Linked DNA regions of Homo sapiens: region 1 is linked to region 2. The links are contacts of gene promoters, found by promoter capture Hi-C in human tissues and cell types (Jung and others, 2019). All regions are on one chromosome and are shown on one strand. The core of a region is centred on a gene start or on the middle of the fragment in contact, and the rest is flanking DNA. Distances in the headings are between cores, read along the strand shown. Region 1 overlaps EFCAB13 (EF-hand calcium binding domain 13). Region 2 holds the start of RPRML (reprimo like).

Region 1 (4,110 bases), core at 1,245-3,744, 350 kb before region 2:
GAATGCAAAATGGTACAACCACTTTGGAATACAGTTTGGCAGTTTCTTACAAAACTAAACATACTTTTACCATACAATCCAACTATTGCACTTGTTAGTATTTACTCTAACAAGTTGAAACTTTATTTCCACATAAAAACCTACAATTGGATGTTTATAGCAGCTGTACTCATAATTGCCAAAACTTGAAAGCAATCAAGATGTCCTTCAGTAATTAATAAATAAACTGTGCTAAATGTAGAGAATGGGATATTATTTAGTGCTAAAAAGAAGTGAGCTATCAAGCCTTGAAAATACATTTAAAAACTTTAAATGCACATTAAGTGAAAAAAGCCCGACCTGAATGGTTCCATATTGTATAATTCCAACTATATGACATTCTGGAAAAGGCAAAACTATGGAGACAGTAAAAAATCAGTGTTTGCCAGGGGATGGGGGAAGGAGAAGTAAATAGCTAGAGCACAGAAGATTTTAGGGCAATGTGATTATTCTGTATGATACTATAATGTTGACTATATGTCATAATACATTTGTTCAAACCCATAGAATGTACAACAAAAGTGAACTCTAATGTAAACTATGGACTTTGAGTGATAATGATGTGCCAATGTTGGTTCACCAATTACAACAAATGTACCACTCTGGTACAGGATGTTGATAGCAGGGTAAGCTGTGCATGTATAGGGGCAGTAGGTATATGGTAACTCTCTATTTTCTGCTCATTTTTTTTATGAACCTAAAACTGCTCTAAAAAAAAGTCTACATATTTAAGACCTGAAACCATAAAAATTCTAGAAGACTACCTAGGAAAAACTCTTCTGGACACTGGCTTAGGCAAAGAATTTATGACTATGACCCCAAGAGCAAATGTAACAAAAACAAAAATAAATAAATGAGACCTAATTAAATTCAGAAGCTCTTACACAGCAAAAATAATAATCAACACAGTAAACAGACAACCAACAGAATGAGAGAAAATATTTGCAAACTATACATCCAACAAAGGACTAATATCCAGAATTTACAAGGAATTCAAACAAATCAGCAGCAAAAAAACAAGTACTCCCATTAAAAAGTGGGAAAATAACATGAACAGATATTTCTCAAAAGAAGATATACAAATGGTCAACAAATACATGAAAAATGCTCAACATCACCAATCACCAGGGAAATACAAATTAAAACCACAATAAGATATCACCTTACCCCAGCCAGAATGGCCATTATTAAAAAGTCAAAAAACAATAAATGTTGGTGCAGATGGGATGATGTAAATTAGTATAATTTCCACAGAAAACAGTATGGAGATTTCTCAAAGAAATAAAGGTAGATCTATCGTTCAATCCAGCAAACCCACTACTGGGTATCTACCCAAAGGGAAAAAAAAGTTGTTGTATCAAAAAAAAAACCTACACATATATGTTTATCTCAGCACAATTCACAATACCAAAGGTATGGAACCAACCTAAGTACCCATCAACTGATGAGAGGTTAAAGAAAATGTGGTATATATACTACGGAATACTACTCACCCATAAAAAAGAACAAAATAATGTCTTTTGCAGCAACTTGGATGAAACTGGAGGCCATTATCCTAAGTGAAGTAACTCAGGAACAAAAAAACCAAATACCACATATTCTCATTTATAAATGGGAGCTAAGCTATGGATCCAAAAAGGCATATGGAGTGGTAGAGATTCAGAAGTGGAGAGGGGACAGGGAAGTGAAGGATGAAAAACTACCTGTTGGGTACAATGTATACTATTCAGGTAACAGGTACACTAAAAGCCCAGACTTCACCACTGTATAATTCAGCCATGTAACCAAAAACCACTTGTACCCCTGAAGCTACTGAAATAAAAAATATTAAATAAATAAATATCTTTCTCTACAAAAAATAAAATAACAAAAAACAAAGCCTATATTTAAAAAAAAAGAAGCTATATTGCTTCTAAATAGACACCACTCCCCACCCCCCCAAAAAGAAATAGAGTTTAGTGACAATAAACGTTTAGAAATAGAAGAATGCAGTTGGAAATATTCTCTCCTGAAATCTGGCTGTTTGCTTAAGACAACTGGCGGCATCCAGTCGATCAAAGGTGCATTAGTCCTGAGTCTTTGAACCCAAAGGTGACCATGAAGATTACACAGACAATTTATAAAGATTACCAAGGAAGTTTAGAGAGAATCTCTGTTTCCACAGGATGGAAATTAACAGAACTATTTCAGTGACTTTTAGAATCTGCATCATTTGTCTTATAACAAAGGCATACCTTTAAGTTGTTTCAAAAAGGCAATTTGATTTGCTGCCTTGATGAGATGTGTATTACAAATGATGAAAGGATTCCTAAAGAGATTGAAAAAAATGACCCAAAATAGAAAGCTGAGGGGGAAAAGGGGTAGGAAATCTAAAAAGACAGAAAAACCTGTTACCAAAGGCCAAGTGAATGAAAACAAAGAGTAGAAGCTTTTGACACAGAAGAAGAAAACAATCTCAGAAACATTGTAGTAAAAGGTGAGCCATCTGTGAAGTATAAATTATACAGTCTAAGGAAAACAAACCGGTATGATACTTTAATATTAATTTTTAAGAATTCATCTTCAAAATCAGTTTATAAGGGCAAAATCAACAAAGTAGTAGGTATAAAAAGGTAAATTTTAAATGTATATATGTGTATATATATGATATAAAGTACATATCTCAGCACTTTTCAAGAGTCTCTGAGATTATTTTTCAGACTATAGTATAGGTACATGTTTTACACAGTAGCGTCAGATCTTTAACAAGGATAAATTTAAAAGATTAGGACTCTCAATTGACAATGCTGAATTTCACTTGAGCCCTAAACTCCCAGAAAACAGTGAGGGTTAAAGGAATCCCCCCACCCTTTTGTGTTCTGGAAAATGGCTTACTGCAAACCACTCCTCCCCATATGACTTAGGTAAGACTCTGGAATGCCCCCCTTGTTTACTTATGACAATGCCAGACACACCCCCTCAAAATTCCCTTTCTTTGCGTCATAAATTATTAGCTGTTTTATCCCCACTGATAATCAGAATATAATAGACTGACTTCATGATAAAATACTCTCCAATCTACTTATCTAATCATTCTACTATTTCATCCAATTTCCCCATACCTGGTTCTTTCCAGCGTCTCTCTATAAAAGAAAACTTCTGCCCAACCCTTGAGACACCTACAGATCTTACGGTCACAGCATTCTTTCCATTGCAATAGTCCTCCTCCTCTTCCAATTTCAATAGTCCCTTTTTTCTCTTGCAATAATTATTTTGAATAAAGTCTCTGCTTACTAAGTCCAGATTTGTTTTTATTTGAAAAAACTTGTCTTATTTGACACAATACTAGCAAAAAAAGGTGGAGGCATCTAAAAAGACAGAAGGGCATAAAACTCTGAAGTACAGATAAGAGGGCTAAAGAAATTTGATGTCCTCTACATTATTTTTTGGTTATACTCTCACATCATTAATTACATTATCTACAACCTCTCATGTAAGTTTAACCCTTTTGATCTCCACAAAAATTATCCAGGTCCGTACCCCACCAAAATACTCTCATCATACACCACAGAAGATCTCTCAGTATTATATGGGTTGTAGGGATGGGAGTTCAATACATGTTCACTAAAATGACTCAAACATCATCTCAGTTACTTGGCCAGGTTCCTTATAACTATTACTCTATGAATTTGCTTACTGATTATGAATATGAGGTAATGTAAACTAATTTTAAAAAGAAGAAAGAAGAAATCTTTAGAAACTGTTTTAAATAAATACCTGGCAGAATAAATGTACTTTAGTTTCCATCTTTCTGTTTAGAGGTAAATTCTGTCCTTAAGGACTCCAGGCTTTGATGAACAAGTATGAATGAGCAATAGTACAAAAGGATTTCCTGCCAAAAAAAGAGAAAGAAGAAATCATACGCTTGTTTAGAACACTTAAGCAATTATATTTACCTACCTGAAGTTATCTCTTCAATGTAACACTGACTTGGGGTATGATACACAACATTTCACCAACACAGATATGTGGGCAAACACTAGAAAAAGCAGTTAGTAGACTATAAATCACAGATCATCCAATTCCTTAACT
Region 2 (4,044 bases), core at 816-3,315:
ACCTCCCAACACCTCCACATTGGGGGTCAAGTTTTCAACAGATGAACTTGGGGAGACATATTCAAACCATAACAGGGAGCAGAGGCTCTGTGATGCCTGTGTGTTGGGGCATCCCGAATCCCTTCACTCCAATTTGCCATGCCCTTTCCATCCCCTTGTCTCCCACTTCACTGTCACCACTGGAATTCAAGTCTCCAGGCAGCATCTTTTGCCTGCATTATTGCAATAACAAAGTGCTTTCTTTACTCTCCTGCAACAATCAAAGCATGCAAATTAACATACGGGTGAGAAACCACCCCTGCCCCCACCCCCCTTCGCTACTCAGGCAAAGACTTTTAAAATAATGATAACAATGTTGGGGGTGGGGAGCCCCCTTTCCCCACAGGGCATGATTGTACACTGGTATATTTCTGGAAAGCAATTTAGTAGGAAGTACTTTTTGATTCTTTTTTTCTTTTTTTATTTTATTTTATTTTATTTTTTTTGAGACGGAGTCTCGCTCTGTCACCCAGGCTGGAGTGCAGTGGCGTGATCTCGGCTCACTGCAAGCTTCACCTCCCGGGTTCACGCCATTCTCCTGCCTCAGCCTCCTGAGTAGCTGGGACTACAGGCGCCCGCCACCACGCCCGGCTAATTTTTTTTTTTTTTTTTGTATTTTTAGTAGAGACAGGGTTTCACGGTGTTAGCCAGGATGGTCTCGATCTCCTGACCTCGTGATCCACCCGCCTCGGCCTCTCAAAGTGCTGGGATTACAGGCGTGAGCCACCGCGCCCGGCCTACTTTTTGATTCTACAGGTCCATTTTTCAAAATACAATCTAAAGAAAAATCAGTTTTGGCACAAATACTTTGTTACAAGGCTCCTTATGGTAATATTGTTTCTGATGAAAGAAAAAAGAAGACAGAAAGAAAGAAAGAAGAAAGAAGAGAAAGAAAGAAGAGAAAGAAGAAGAGAAAGAAAGAAGAAGGAAGGAAGGAGAGAAGGAAAGGGAGAAGGAAGAAGAAGGAAAGAAAAACTCAGACATCCAGCAGGAAGCTTGGTTAAATAAACTGTAGTAGTCCATACCTTAAAATGCCATTCCTTCACTAAAAATGATGTTGTAGCTCAGTAGTTTGTGCATCACGTGGGAACTGTTAGAAATGCACATTCTGGGGCCCCATCCCACATCTGATTCAGAAACTCTTGGGGTTGGTTGGGGTGGGGAGGTTGGGGGCGGGAGGTGGAAGCAATCTGGGTTTTAATAAACCCTCCAAGGCAATTCAGAGCCATAGCTGTAGAGGACCATCGCTAGGGAAAGTTACGCTGTTAAGTGAGGAAAGGTTGGGAGGCAGTAAGCAGGAACGGTGCATCCCCATATCTGTTATCTAGAGAAAGGCACAAATAGAAAAAGTCTGGGAGGAGTTTATACCCAGGTGATAACATCGACACTCTCTAGGAGGCAGATTATAAAGTTTTAGAGTAATTTCGGTAATTCATGTTTTCTAAACTAGTCTACAATGACTATGTTTGTGTAAAAAAGAAAGAAAAAAACAGTAATTTATTTTTTAATTTAAAAAAAAAGTTAAATGGGACCAAGTTGAGAGGAGGGTGTAGGGAAGGAGGCAGAGAGCCCGCCTCGCCGCGACAGCTTTCACCCCGGGAAAGCTGTGAGGCAGGACCGCCCAGGAGACCCGGGGCCAGTGGAGTGGGCAGCGCCAGGGGTCCCGGCGACTCATCTGATGTCTAGCAAGGCTTACGAGGGCTTAAATAATAAGCGAAGAGAGTCAGGGCAGATTCCGGAATAACTTCACTGCTAAGGGTATCAAATCCTGGAATGGGCACCTTGGAGAGGTTTTCTAGCCAAGAACGGACAGCGGGTGCCAGGAGGGGGTGGAGTTTCGCCGGCCCGCGGACAGAGGCTGCCGGATCTCCCGACCCCCTCCAGCACCGGGACTCCGGGGAGGCTGCGCCCGCGGCGGGATTCCCGCCCCTCGGAGATGCCGCGGGGACCGGCGGGGCGGGGCCGGGCCGTTGCTAGGGGAGGGGCGGCCAGGCGCGCGAGGAACCCAGCGGGCGACCGCTAAGCACACTAGGTTCTCCGGCTCCAGCTCCTGCGCCGCCTGTTGCTCGCTCCTCCGGGCGGTCGCTTCCCGCCCGGTGCCCAGGGGTAGGCGGCCCGAGAGCGCGCAGGCAGCCAGCCTCCCGCCTTCGTCCCCTCCCCGTACCGCAGGAGCCGGTCCGAGGGGTCCGGAGCGTCCCTGAGAGCGCGGACCCCGGCGAGCAGCCCAGTGCACCCGGGACTGCGCGCCGAGACCCCCGGCGCCGCGCGGCGATGAACGCGACCTTCCTGAACCACAGCGGCTTGGAGGAGGTGGACGGCGTGGGCGGCGGCGCCGGGGCCGCCCTGGGAAACCGCACCCACGGGCTGGGCACGTGGCTGGGCTGCTGTCCAGGGGGCGCACCGCTGGCCGCCAGCGACGGGGTCCCCGCGGGGCTGGCGCCCGACGAGCGCAGCCTGTGGGTGTCGCGGGTGGCGCAGATCGCCGTGCTCTGCGTGCTGTCGCTTACCGTGGTCTTCGGCGTCTTCTTCCTGGGCTGCAACCTGCTCATCAAGTCCGAGAGCATGATCAACTTTCTGGTGCAGGAGCGCCGGCCCTCCAAGGACGTGGGCGCAGCCATCCTGGGGCTGTACTGAGCGCCATCTGGGTCCGCCCTCGCCAGCGCTGCTGCAAGAAGGACCCCGGAGACCCGGACCCTCGCCCCGCTCTCTGCGCTCTGCCGCCGCCTCCGGGCGGGCAGCTACGTGCCTGGGGCGCCCGGGCGGGGACGCGGCGAGACTGTCGGCGGGGGCGCGGGAAGGGACTTGGACGCCCGGCTCTGTCCTGTGTGCGCTGCAGCGTTGCGGGGTGGGAGAATGTGGGGTGAGGGTTCTTACCAGTTTTTTTTGTTTGTTTGTTTTTTAAGACGTTCGGGGCAGGGTGGGAGTGGGTATGGAGATGCAATTTGGGACTGCGGTCGCTCGCGTGGGAGTTTTGTGTGTACGTTGGTGCGGGTGGGTTCGGAACACGGTGCGAGTGGGTGAAGATGTGAAGCGTCAGAGTCGCTGAGCTTGTTGGCCTGATCTTGCGTTTGGAAAGAAATCTTGTAATAAAACTGCAGCCGTAGGGCTTCAGGCAGCTTCCCACCCGCGCCTGTGAGGTGTGTGTGTGTGTTGCGGGGCGGAGGGCATGTACCCTCCTGGCGGACACTTTGAGCCCCGTGGGAGACATCTAGCCCCTGCGTGGACGCCTGGCTGGGGAGCCCACAGGTCAGGTCAAGGATCCTGGGGCTCCACGCGGAGGCCAGAGCGAGGAAAGGCAAAGGGAATCGTTTTCTAACGCCAACAGCGGAGAAGGCAGGTCCTGTGGGACAGCCAGACAGCTGGTGAGATTAATTAAATCACTGGATATATGAGTCTAATATGAGATGAAACAAAATCAGTCAGCTGTGTCCAAAACGAAGAAAATGTGAACAAGGAAAATTCAATTTGGCAGAGGGGAAAACTAGATCTAGTTAAAAGTTTAATTATAAGGCCAAAGCCCCTTCTAAGGGCTTGCTTTGTCCCTACCCTTATAGCGGACAGATGAGTAGACGGAAGAAACCCCCTTGTTGCATCCCATAGGGGTGGGGGTTGGCGGCTTTGTGGTGAGGAAGTCCCAGGATGTTTATTATACAATGGAGAAAATGGCCTCCAAACGCAGTTGCCTGCAGGGGACTTGGAGCCTCCCATTACAGGATGCCCCAGCTGCCCAGAAACCCACGCCTCCTGCAGGTGCTAACTTCCCTTGCAGCAGTGTGGAGCAGCAAGAACTGGCTACTCCCTAGCGGACAGCGAGAGGACAGCTCTGCTTTCTGGAAGTTGGGGACAGGGGGACCTGGGGACACTGGAGGAGAGAAGGCTGGGCTTTCTGGCCTATGTATCCCCCACTACACTTAGTCCTAGTGCCAACCCCGCTCAAGCGGTTCTTGGAAGACTTGGTCGGGGAGAGACTGGATTTCTCCCTTTCTTCTCTCTTTTGCTGTGGGT

The links. Contacts are between HindIII fragments. The study calls those that stand out against the background at their distance.
Region 1: a fragment that was not itself captured here is called in contact with the fragment with the promoter of RPRML in region 2 in 1 of the 25 tissues and cell types used here (adrenal gland).

Annotation. Positions count from the first base shown.
Region 1 is chr17:47,328,069-47,332,178 of GRCh38, reverse strand. EFCAB13 (EF-hand calcium binding domain 13) reads right to left here. Exons shown (of 25, transcript NM_152347.5): 4 at 3,796-3,910. The coding sequence starts at 3,825. Among named protein-coding and RNA genes, the nearest start is that of EFCAB13, 6.2 kb to the right of the region's middle. The HindIII fragment of the contact is 3,771 bases long and covers 609-4,110 here.
Region 2 is chr17:46,977,274-46,981,317 of GRCh38, reverse strand. RPRML (reprimo like) reads left to right here and starts at 2,065. Exons shown (of 1, transcript NM_203400.5): 1 at 2,065-3,162. The coding sequence starts at 2,311. The coding sequence ends at 2,673. It also overlaps a transcript of LRRC37A2 not described here. RefSeq lists a silencer at 1,943-2,122 and enhancers at 2,600-3,279, 3,280-3,960. The HindIII fragment of the contact is 12,504 bases long and covers 793-4,044 here.